2 separate regions of the Homo sapiens genome follow, and region 2 is linked to region 1. The links are contacts of gene promoters, found by promoter capture Hi-C in human tissues and cell types (Jung and others, 2019). All regions are on one chromosome and are shown on one strand. Each heading gives the region's core, a stretch centred on a gene start or on the middle of the fragment in contact. The rest is flanking DNA. Distances are from core to core; before and after follow the strand shown. Region 1 overlaps LOC105376863 (a long non-coding RNA gene). Region 2 holds the start of FUCA1 (alpha-L-fucosidase 1).

Evidence for each region. Contacts are between HindIII fragments. The study calls those that stand out against the background at their distance.
Region 2: a contact is called between the fragment with the promoter of FUCA1 here and a fragment that was not itself captured in region 1, in 1 of the 25 tissues and cell types used here (aorta).

The regions. Positions count from the first base shown.
Region 1 is chr1:24,017,900-24,023,885 of GRCh38, forward strand. LOC105376863 (a long non-coding RNA gene) reads left to right here. Exons shown (of 3, transcript XR_947072.3): 2 at 5,768-5,862. Among named protein-coding and RNA genes, the nearest start is that of SRSF10, 41 kb to the left of the region's middle. The HindIII fragment of the contact is 6,846 bases long and covers 1-5,986 here.
Region 2 is chr1:23,864,988-23,870,973 of GRCh38, forward strand. FUCA1 (alpha-L-fucosidase 1) reads right to left here and starts at 3,303. Exons shown (of 8, transcript NM_000147.5): 1 at 2,911-3,303; 2 at 504-638. The coding sequence starts at 3,299. It overlaps CNR2 (cannabinoid receptor 2), which reads right to left. Exons shown (of 2, transcript NM_001841.3): 2 at 5,528-5,986. RefSeq lists an enhancer at 265-1,464 and a silencer at 2,715-2,934. The HindIII fragment of the contact is 22,530 bases long and covers 1-5,986 here.

The sequences.
Region 1 (5,986 bases), core at 1,877-4,376:
TTTTTTTTTTTGAGACAGAGTCTTGCTCTGTCACCCAGGCTGGAGTGCAGTGGCATGATCTCGGCTCACTGCAACCTTAGCCTCCCAGGTTCAAGCAATTCTCCTGCTCAGCTTCCCAAGTAGCTAGGATTACAGGCATGCACCACCATGCTCGGCTAACTTTTGTACTTTTAGTAGAGACGGGGTTTCACCATGTTGGTCAGGCTGGTCTTGAACTCCTGACCTCAAGCAATCCACCCGCCTTGGCCTCCTAAAGTGCTGGGATTACAGGCGTGAGCCACTGTGCCCAGCCTGCAATTTGATTTAAAGTGACTAGGGCGGCTGGGCAAGGTGGCTCATGCCTGTAATCCCAGCACTTTGGGAGGCCAAGGCAGGTGGATCATCTGAGGTCAGGAGTTCAAAATCAGCCTGGCCAACATGGTGAAACTCCACCTCTACTAAAAATACAAAATTAGCTGGGCATGGTGGCACATGCCTGTAATCCTAGCTACTTGGGAGGCTGAGGCAGGAGAATCGCTTGAACCTTGGAGGTGGAGGTTGCAGTGAGCCGAGATCGTGCCATTGCACTCCAGCCTGGGCGACAGAGCGAGACTCCATCTCAAGAAAAATAAATAAATAAATAAATAGAATAAATACATAAATAATTAAAGTAACCAGGAAATGTCTCATGGAGATGACCTTGGAACAAAGACATGGAGAAGGCAAGGGAGGTGGCCACGAGGATAACTTGTTCAGAAACTGACCTGGGGTTCCCAGGAATTGACAGGGCGGGTACTGGAATCTCTGTCTGGCTCTAAGGCCAGTGCTCTCCTTTCAACAAGGCTCTTTTTCAAGAAGCAGTGTCGCTGTCGTCCAAGCAGGCTGTGTGCGTGTGATGCTGTGTGCGCGCACATATGTGCTATTTAGGAATGTGTTATATTTCCATGGGTAGACCCTGTGGGGACCCAAGCTTCCCTACTGACATCTTCCAGAGGCTGAGGCCTCACATTGTTGGTTTTCATGGAAACTTGGCAACTTTCTAGTTATCCCGCCCTGAGCCCTGCACCACATTCCAATGGTTTTATTTGTGTGCCTTGGAGCTGTGCCAGGGCTGGGCCTGGGACAGGTTGCCATGGCGACCTCCCCACTCTTTCCAGATAAGAATTTCTCAAGGATGTTGACGTTGGGCCTGAAATAGTTCTACCCTGCTCTCAGCCCGTAGGAGGATGAACTTTGGCATGGAGAACTGAGTTAGGAAACCTACTCATTCCCTCAGTCTTTCAATTTGTGTACACTGAATCCTGGGTAAGAAAGACTTCTCGGGAGGGTACTCCAGGGCCCCCCAGCTTTAGGATTGAGGATGGCTTTGCTTAGGTACTAGAAGAGCTTCTTTCAGTTTTTCCATTCCAGTTGTTATATTCAGTGCTTGCCTTTGAGAGCCCTGCTAACATAAGATATTTTTTTTTCTTTTTTTTTCGAGATGGAGTCTCGCTCTTGTCATCCAGGCCGGAGTTCAGTGGTGCGATCTCAGCTCACTGCAACCTCTGCCTCCGAGGTTCAAGTGATTCTCCTTCCTCAGCCTCCCGAGTAGTTGGGATTACAGGTGCCCGCCACCATGCCCAGCTCATTTTTGTATTTTTTTAGTAGAGATGGGGTTTCACCATGAGAGCCAGGCTGGTCTCGAACTCCTGACCTCAAGTGATCTGCCCGCCTCAGCACCCCAAAGTGCTGGGATTATAGGTGTGAGCCACTGTGTCCAGCTTTTTTTTTTTTTTTTGAGATGAAGTCTTGTTGTGTGGCCCAGGCTGGAGTGCAGTGGTACAATCTTGGCTCGCTGCAACCTCTGCCTCCTGGGTTCAAGCAGTTCTTGTGTCTCAGCCTCCCTTGTGGCTGGGATGATAGGCATGTGCCACCACGCCCAGCTAATTTTTGTATTTTTAATAGAGACGGGGTTTCACCATGTTGCCGAGGCTGGTCTTGAACTCCTGGACTCAAACAATCCTCCTGCCTTGGCTTCCCAAAGTGTTGGGATTACAGGTGTGAGCCACTGCACCTGTCCTGAAAGAACAACTGTCACTGGGAATTTGCTTTCAGAAAGAAAAAATGTCAGTGTTCATGCCTTTAACTCAAAATAATTCTTAAGCCAAAATAGCATATTTTGGGGTGGCGTATTCTTCCGCCCTTCACTTTTTTTCCCAGTAAATATTATTTTGAGTGAATAAAGTGACTCATCCAAAAATTCTTTTTTTTTTTTGATGACTTGTCCAAATTCACTGCATCAGTTATCTATTTCTGTATAACAAAACACTCTTGGATTTAGTGGCTTATGACAACACTGTCTTATTTGTTTATGATTCTGTGGGTCAGCTATTTGAGGTGGGATGGATGGTTCTTCTCCTGGTCTTGGCCGAGACCACTTGCAACTGCAGTCGGCTGGGGGTTTGGCTGGGAGCTGGTTGATCTGGGGCCTCAGCCAGGGTATGTTTTTGCTCCTTGTGGTCTTACGTCCAACAGGCTAGTGTCCTGGGCTTCTTTCTGAGAAAGTGAGGCTGAGGGCCTCTTCAGGGGCAGATCCTGAAGCAGTTCTAGGGGTCTTCTCTAAAGAAAATAAAAGCCATTAATATGAAATTAGGTCCAGAGCCTTGGAAGAGGCCGGTGCAAGTAAAGGGCCCAAAGCTTGAGCTGCAGGAGCCTCCCAGAACATCCGCCTTTGGTCTTCTCTGCTCTTGGATCCTCAGTGAGACTTGATGGGGTCTGACATCATTCTTACCCTTGAGAATGGGCCAGGGAACTAGCATGACATGGAACAGGGCCTCTTCTCAGTGACACACCTAAGAACCCTCTCCCTCCTCCCCAACTTGCCCCTCTCCTCTCAATCTTGAAGCTGCTATTGCTGTACTTCATCACGCTGAATTTATTGAGACACAAACTTTTATCAGGCTTTAGATTTTATTTTATTTTATTTTTTTTGAGATGGATCCTCACTCTGTCACCCAGGCTGGAGTCCATCTTGGCTTACTGCAACCTCCACCTCCCGGGTTCAAGCAATTCTCCCACCTCAGCCTCCCGAGTAGCTGGAATTTCAGGCGAGTGACACCACATCTGGTTAATTTTTGTATTTTTAGTAGAGATGGGGTTTCACAATGTTGGCCAGGATGGTCTGGAATTCCTGACCTCAGGTGATCCGCTCGCCTCGGCCTCCCAAAGTGCTGGGATTACAGGCATGAGCCACTGGACCCCGCCAGATTTTATTTTATTTTATGAGTCAGGATCTCAATGTGTCGCCGTTGGAGTGCAGTGGCGCGATCATGGCTCATGCAGCCTCAAACTCTCCATCTCAAGTGATCCTCCAACTTCAGCCTCCTAAATAGCTAGGACTGTAGGTACTCCACAAATGCCTGGTGAATTTTTGTTTACTTTTTGTAGAAACAGAGTCTCACTATATTGCCCGGGCTGGTCTCAAAACTCCTGGATTTAAGTGATCCTCTCCTTGGCTTCCCAAAGCTCTGGGATTACAGATGTGAGCCACTGCCCCTGGCCTAGGCTTTAGATTTAAAAATTCAACTCCTGCCCCTATTTCCCCCCACAAATATGCTCTCTGGCATAAATTTCAAAGGTCTATTTGAAACTCAAAAGCTAAGAATGGACTCTTTGTTCTGCTGTATCCCCCATCACTTCCTGAGGGAATGAGCTTCAAATGTCCTACCTGCTTCCCAAATGGGCGGAAAGATTCAGGAACAAAGCCCACATTAGATAACAGTATAAAATAGCTTCCGGCTGCATGGTTAGAACTGTTTATTTACACAGGTTTAGGAGCACCAGGTGAAAAATGTGAGCTTTGCCCTCACTTGGGGTTCAAATTTACCTGGGCATGTTTGGTGGGGGATGGAACCACACCGTAGGTGCAATTGTGTTCCAGAGAGAGAGGCGACAATGGAGAAGAAGGAATACACCATGCTAGGCTCAGACGTGGGGCCTTGGGTGGGATGTAGGCAGTGGCTCTTTGCACGGGGTGTGGCTATAACTGGGACCTCCAGGTGGTGGCTCATGGTTGCACTGGGGAAGTAAACTAATCTAGGCATAAAAGTTGATGAAGCTGTAGCACCAGGAGTCCAAGCTGTGAAGGAAGTTGAGTCCTTCCTCCGCCAGCAGCAGACTGTGAGCTGCAGAGTCAAATATGTAAGTAGCAATTATTGGTGAGGCTGTTGGCAGCTCATGGACAAGAACAGAGGTTGTTGGCAGGCAGGCAAATAGCAAGGGCAAGGTCAGTGGCCCTGGTTGGGTTCTGGGTCTGGTGTGATGGTAGTGAGAACTGCAAGAACTCTTTTCACCTAATGACTCCAAACTCCTGTGCTAAGAGATTTGACCAGCCCTAGCATGGCTTCTAGCAGCCTAAGGTGGCATCTCTGGGACCATCCAGCCCCCTTTTAAGTTCCTGTCTGTAAAATCTCCGGGCTGTCAAAAGAATTAACTGTTTGTTGCAGCCAGCACCTAACATAGACCCCTGACCTCCCTTTTGCAAAGCATTCATGCAAAGGGCTTCCTATTGAGACTCCTTCCTCTGCCCCTTTGAGATGTGTGTCTATCTCCTACAACTTACCTTTCTCAAAGACCTGAAAGCCATTCCTTTGAAATGTGATTATCAGGAGGGCCTCTGTCTCCCAGTCTCTGTGGGAGGACAGAATCCCGACCTTGTTGATCACCAGCTAGCAGACACAGCTGGCCGACTGCATTTTCACTTGATCATTTTTCCCTTTAGTCCCTGCTTGCCTCCACCCACTCCCACTCCCACTCCCACTCCCATTCTCCCTTTAAAATGCTGTCACCTCTGGGTAAACCAGAAGAGAGCTCAGCTCCTTTCCCTACTGCCCCTCATTACTGCATATAATCTGTTTTCACTGCTTTAACTAGTGTCTGGCTTGTTTTTCTTTGACAGTTGCTCAGGGGTTAGAAATGGCCCTCCTGGGCAACTCAAAGCTGCAGCATGCATGAGGGGTGAATCAGAGGAGAACTGGTATCCAATCAGGTGATGGTGACAGGGTGGAGCGGTGACCTATGAGCAGGAGTGGTCTGGCCAGCATTGAGGATATATTAGGGACCACAACTGGGGCACATGGTGGTTTTTGTCCAAGAGAGACAGCCAAGTGTACAGCCTGAAGCAAATTGATGTGGGCAGAGAGCATGGGAGTCACCTCCCCGAGTAGTCCTGCAGACATACAAGGGGGGCAGGAGACCCAGAAAGGAGGCATCCTGCTCATTTGGCATCCTGCTCTTTTTTTTTTCTTTTTTTGAGATAGAGTTTCACCTTGTAGCCCAGGCTGGAGTGCAATGGTGTGATCTCAGCTCACTGCAACCTCAGCCTCCTGGGTTCAAGTGATTCTCCTGCCTCAGCCTCCCAAGTAGCTGGGCTCATAGACATGCGCCACCACACCTGCTTAATTTTGTGTTTTTAGTAGTGATGGGGTTTCACCATGTTGGTCAGGCTGGTCTTGAATTCCTGACCTCAGGTGATCTGCCCGCCTCGGCCTCCCAAAGTGCTGGGATTACAGGCATGAGCCACCACGCCTGGCCTCATCCTGCCCTTTTACATGTCAGCTGTTGAGTCCACAGTCTTTCTGTCAATCAGAACTTATTTGTGTACATAAACCACAGATAAAACTCTCTGTGTACTATCGTGGCAATGCTTGGAGATCCCTGTTCACCCAAGAATCTCTTTATTGGGACCATTTATCACAGTCATTATCATTGACCACGTGAATGAGATAATTATTTTGTCTTCTTCCTGCAGGATGGAAAGTTTCCTTTTGAGAGGAGAAAAAAATGGTGAAAAGAAAATTCTAGCAAATAAAAAATGATTTGCAAGGCTTCTCCTGTACTTGCTAAGTAAGTAAGGGGGCTCTTTGGATGACCTCAGACTTTTGGGAAATTGAGAAAGCATATTCCACAGCAGCAGTCCCATGTGGGGGTAGGAGTGGGGTGGCAGAGGGGCAGGGAAGAGAGCTAGAAA
Region 2 (5,986 bases), core at 2,053-4,552, 150 kb before region 1:
TCAACGCACCCGACCAGTGAACTCTTAAAGATCCAGACAGTGTTTTAGGTTTTGCAGGCCATTTGGTCTCTATCTCAGCTCTCAAATTGTAGCTTGAAAGCAGTCACAGACAGTGCATAAATGAATAGGCATGGCTGTGTTCCAATCAAACTTTATGATTTATACAGACACTCAGCCTACTCCTCAAACAGGACATCAAGTAGCATCGTAGTCTATGTTGGGTATCCTTCATCTAACCAGACATGGCCATGAACTTCTGTAACGGTGTCCCCTTTGGTCACGTGAAAACTGTGAAGCATCAAACACTGCCAATTCAAAGGCCAGAAGCCCTTCCGGCTACTTGCTATATGCAAACCTAGAAAACACACAGGAGTAGAAGGCCAAAAGCCCTTCAGGCTACTTGCTATATGCAAACCTAGAAAACACACGCAAGTAGAGGAGGTACAGAACTCTTGACAGCCAGATCCAAAGAGATAACAGAGTAACCATCCCTGGACACTCACCTCTTCCGGAGAGCTGTTCCCAATTCACCAACCAAATCCCGATGAGGCCCCACGTCTTTGGAGTTCCAGTTCCAAGACACAGGACTCGGCCAGTTTGTGAAGCCTTCGTGATGCTTTGTCGTCAAAACTACATACCTGTGGACAGCAAAACCACATGAGCAAAGGAAGTGGGCAGTGAACTTGCATGAACTTGCCCAGCATGCCTGAGGCTTTTTAAATAGCTGAAAGAACTTGACCACAACAAATGTACTTGTACCAGTGACTATATTAGTGATATCCAGGAAGCTGCTGCAGTCACAATTCCCCTTGGGCATTGCTCCAAGAATGGAAGCAGATTTGAGGAAGTCCCAACCCTCAGTCCCCAGCAAAGGAGGAGGCCCAGAGGGAAGGAAGGAGTGGGTAAGGGAAAAGAAGTGCACCTTAGCTCTCTGATTCTTCAACACTTCTGGTAGGAACGATTAACTTTCTTTCATTCTTTGCCCTGAAGGAGAAAGAGCTCTACTGGAAATGGCAGATAATAGAAAACTAAGCCATTTGCTGGCCAGGCATGGTGGCTCACACCTGTAATCCCAGCACTTTGGGAGGCCAAGGTGGGCGGATTACCTGAGGTCAGGGGTTCAAGACCAACCTGGCCAATGAGGCGAAAACCCATCTCAACTAAAAATACAAAAATTAGCCGGGCATGGTGGTGTGTGCCTGTAGTCCCAGGTATTTGAGAGGCTGGGGCATAAGAATCACTTGAGCCTGGGAGACAGAGGTTGCAGTGAGCCGAGATCATGCAACTGTACTCCAGCCTGGGCTACAGAGCAAAACTGTTTCAAAACAACAATAACAACAAAATAGAAAACTTTCTAGAAAACTAAGCTGTTTGGTTTACCAAGCCTACATAAATTGCCTCTCATTTATTATAGAGGTGACAAAAGACCCAATAACTGGGAGAAAAGGCAAGTGTTGAAATAACAACCAAATCACTCAATATTTAATTTGCTTTTATGGCACAAAAATAGGTAATGCACTTTATGGTTCAATCATTGGCCAGAGTAGGGAACTCCAGGATTTGAAGGGCCAGATAGTATTTTAGGCTCTGTGGGAGCACATTCCTCTCTGTAGTGTATTCTTCTTTAAAACATTTTACAACCCTTTAAAAATGTAAAAACCATTCTCACCTCATGGGCCTTAAAAAACTGGCAGAGGACCAATCCCTCTGGCCAGTTTGCAGACCCTGGTGCAGTGGAAACAACCTTGACGTCATGAGACCTGGAGTCTAGGACATTATATTCCTTCCTCTCTTTGGGCCAGTCATCTCATCCATGAAATAAAAGGCATGGAAAGAGGTTATCTCCCAGATTTTAATTTTTCTCACTTGTAAGTTATGGATCCCTAAGGCCCCTAGGAGACAAACACTTCCTCTGCTTAATCAAGTCTTATACTCCCATACATTTAATGGCAAACACTAAATGCCAGTTGTAACTTCTCTTTAGTACAAGTGAATTCAAAGTTCAAGAGAAACGAAAACCCGGAAGATGGCTGAGGAACCAAGGTAAGGATGGAAGACTGCTCTAAGCCAGGGGCTGGGGAAACCTCCCCGCCTCCATTTTTACTCTTCTCCAACCCACTTCTCTCCCAGCAGCCGAATGAATCTTTCTAGAAGCTGATAGTAACCACTCCCTGACTTAACATCTGTCAATACAGGGCTCTCAAGGCTCACTCCTTCAGGACAAGCCCCTGCCTTGACAACTTCATGGGTCGTGGTCTCCCCTTATCCCCACCCCAGCGCTCTCTACTCTGTTCTCTGAACCAGCCACCCCCAAGTTCCAACAGTTCTCAGAGAGAGTCAGACCCTTCCTGGACACTTCCTACGTAAAAGGGATTGAGAGGAGCAAACGAATGACTATCTGTACTGTTGCCCAAATACACTGCACACCAGAACTCCCCTCTCTTTCCCTCTTAGAGACATTAGGGCTCAAAGGGTTGTATCCTTATATAACCCCTTTCTACAACCATAGAAGAGGCTGCAGGGAGGCTGAAGTGACATGTCCAGGTTCACAGTTGAATTAGAACCAGGCTCCACACCACTGATTTGAAACCCTGGAGTCCTGATAGTGCTGTCAATCTGAAAGGGACATCAGGTATGGCCTAACTCAGCCCTCTCGGTGCACAGGTGCAGATACCCAGGGCTTCCCAGCCTGCCATCTCCCTGAACCTTCATTTATCAGTCCCCAGTCAAACGCACCTCCTCCTCCTCATCAGGTGTGCCAGGCTCACTCCTGTGGCCGCAGGAGGCCACACGCGGGCCCCGGGGTCATGGGGGCGACCGGCAGCTGCGCGCCCCAGCTGGCCGCCCAGCCCCACCTCCTGTTTGCCGCCCGAGCCGGGAAGGGGCGCCGCTCCCCGGGACCACACTCACTTGGCGCCCGCGGCCTGGAAGAGGTCGGCCCACTCCTCCGGGTGGAAGAAGCGCGCAGTGAACTGCGGTCCGAAGTCGGCGTAGCTGAAGCCGGGCGGGTAGTTGTCGCGCATGAAGCGCTGGTACTGCGGCCGCCCCTCGCCCTGCCAGTGCCACCAGAACCACTCGCTGCCCCAGGCGGGCACCGAGAACACGCCCCAGTGGATGAACACCCCGAACTTGGCTTCGTCGAACCAGGCCGGCAGCGGCCGAGAATCCAGGCTCGGCCAGTCTGGGGTGTAGCGGCGCGGAGGCTGGGCCCGACGCACCGACTCGGCCGCTCCGAGGAAGAGCAGCAGCAGCAACAGCGCGGGACCCGCCGGCCGCGACCTCATCCCCGGAGCCCGCATCGCTACCCCTCAGCGACGCGGCCCACTCTTAACGCGCAGGTGCCCGCGGGCGGCTCCGCCCACTCTGACTAACGATTGGCCCGGAAGGAAAAAGGGGTGGGACAACCTGGACAGGTTGGCCCGAGTCGCTTCCTCCTCGGGTCGGAGGAGCGCCCTCTGGTGCTCAAGAAGGGAAAGACGCAGGGAGGCGTTGACAGCGCTTCGCTGAAGGACGAATAAAAACCTTGAAAAGGGACTTAACTGCGAGGTTAAATCGTGGAGGTGAGCAAGGCCCAGTGTGTGCGGAGAACTCACATTTAAGAAGGAGTCCATTGAGCCGGACGCAGTGGCTCACGCCTGTAATCCTAACACTTTCGGAAGTCGAGGCGGGAGGATCGCTCTGAGCCCACAAGTTGGAGACTAGCCTGTCTCTATAAAAAATAAACAAAATGAGCCTGGCGTAGTGGTGCACGTCTGGAGTCCCAGCTACTCGAGAGGCTGAGGTGGGAGGTTCGGGATCGCTTGAGCCCGGGAAGTCTGGGCTGCAGTGAACCGAACCGTGATCACGCCTCTGGGAGTAGTCCATTTTGCCGCAGCAATCCTGCAGGGGTAGGCTGAAGTGAGATCACGAGTTTTATTTAGTGATCACTTGGGAGCCATAGGGGGCTTTTGAGTTGTCCTGTAGCACAAGGCTGGAGGAGGAGATAACAGACCGGAAGGGTATCTAACAGCCCTGACAGAAATAAGGAGGTAGAGGGATGATGGGAAGAAACGTTATGAAAGGAGAGGAAAGAGAAAACTGGGTACTGAAAGAGGGAGAGCGGGCAGGACCGTTTCATCTGTCTGGTATTTACTGAGCTTTCTTTGGGAATTCCGAGGCATTTCAAATAGCTTAGTTTGTACCGAGATACCGCCACTGCACTCCAGCCCCTGGGCGACAGAGCCAGACCAAGGAAGAAAGAAAGGAAGGAAGGAAGGAAGGAAGGAGGAAGGAAGGAAGGAAGGAGGAAGTGGAGAGCCAAGAGGACCCAGGATTGCCTGGCAGGGAAGTTCCCCAGTTCCTCTGCAATTTGCACATGCTGCACATACTCAAACGGGAGGTGAGGCCATTAGCGAGGGAAATACGGAAGTCAGAAGTCTCTGAACAGACAAGGTGGCTCACGCCTGTAATCCCAGCACTTTGGGAGGCCGAGGTGGGCAGATCACCTGAGGTCGGGAGTTTGAGACCAGCCTGGCCAACATGGTGAAACCCCATCTCTACTAAAAATACAAAAATTAGCCGGGCATGGGGTGCGCCTGTAATCCCAGCTACTCAGGAGGCTGAGGCAGGAGAATTGCTTGAACTCGGGAGGTGGAGGTTACAGTGAGCCGAGATCGCACCACTGCACTCCAGCCTGGGCGACAGAGTGAGACTCGGTCTCAAAAAAAAAAAAAAAAAAAAAGAAAAAGAAAAGGAAGAAGAAGTCTCATGACTCCACGTAGCACACTCAGTTCCCACATGCCAGTGAGAGAATGGCAGCACATCAGAGTTGGGACTTTGAAGATCCTAGGCACCATCCTCTTCCCTACCCTTCCCATTGTACCGAGGAGGGAACTGAAGCCCAGAGAGGGCTGGGGGGCTGCCCAAGATCATGCAGCTAGTTTGAGTCAGAGGTGGGACTAGAATACGTGTCTCCAGGTGCAAAATCTATGCCTTTGTTCATGCTGCTTCTTTCTTGCACCTCATGAGAAGTCAGAGCCTATGTTGACAGAACCCAGCACTTCCTCACTCTGGCAGTGACAAGGAGAGAAAATGACTATTGCTGAATCACAGCTGTTTTCTTTTCTTTTCTTTTCTTTTTTCTTTTCTTTTCTTTTGAGATGCAGTCTTGCTCTGTCGCCCAGGCTGGAATGCAGTGCTGCAATCTCAGCTCACTGCAACCTCCACCTCCTGGGTTCAAGCCATTCTCCTGCCTCAGCCTCCCGAGTAGCTGGGTTTACAGGTACGCCACCACGCCTGGCTAATTTTTGTATTTTTAATACAGATGGGGTTTCGCCGTGTTGGCCAGGCTGGTCTCGAACTCCTGACCTCAAGTGATCCGCCAGCCTCAGCCTTCCAAAGTGCTGGGATTACAGGCATGAGCCACTGCACCCGGCCTACAGCTATTTTCTTTATCTTCTGTTTCTTTTTCTGCCAGATTATGTTGAAATATTGCCCAAAACAGTAAGCATGAACACCTTAGGAAAAAAACCGAACCCATCCACACACATTTTCTAGTAATCGGTTTGCATAGTGGTCTTTAATGTTACAGAGCTTGTCTTGGGGAAGATAAAATGGGACATTGTGATCTTCAATTTATTTCTCCTTATCCACATAACCAAAATGTGAACCTGCAGGGACAGGTGAGAGGCACTGATGTAGAGTGGACAGAACTGGAAGTTAGGAAACCTAGGTTTGTTGCACTGGACACCATCTCGTTTGTCTCCCTGAGCAAGTCTTGTCCACTGTCTGGGCCCATTTCCTCAACCAAACAACAAGGGCAGTTCTCAGTGATATCTAGGTCCCTTTTGCACCCTTGTTCTCCTCCCTCATAAGCTCTGCTTCTCCACTTAAAGCAGACATAGGGGCTGGGAGTGGTGGCTCACACCTGTAATCCTAGCACTTTGGGAGGCTAAGGTGGGTGGATCACTTGAAGTCAGGAGTTCAAGACCAGCCTGGCCAATATGGT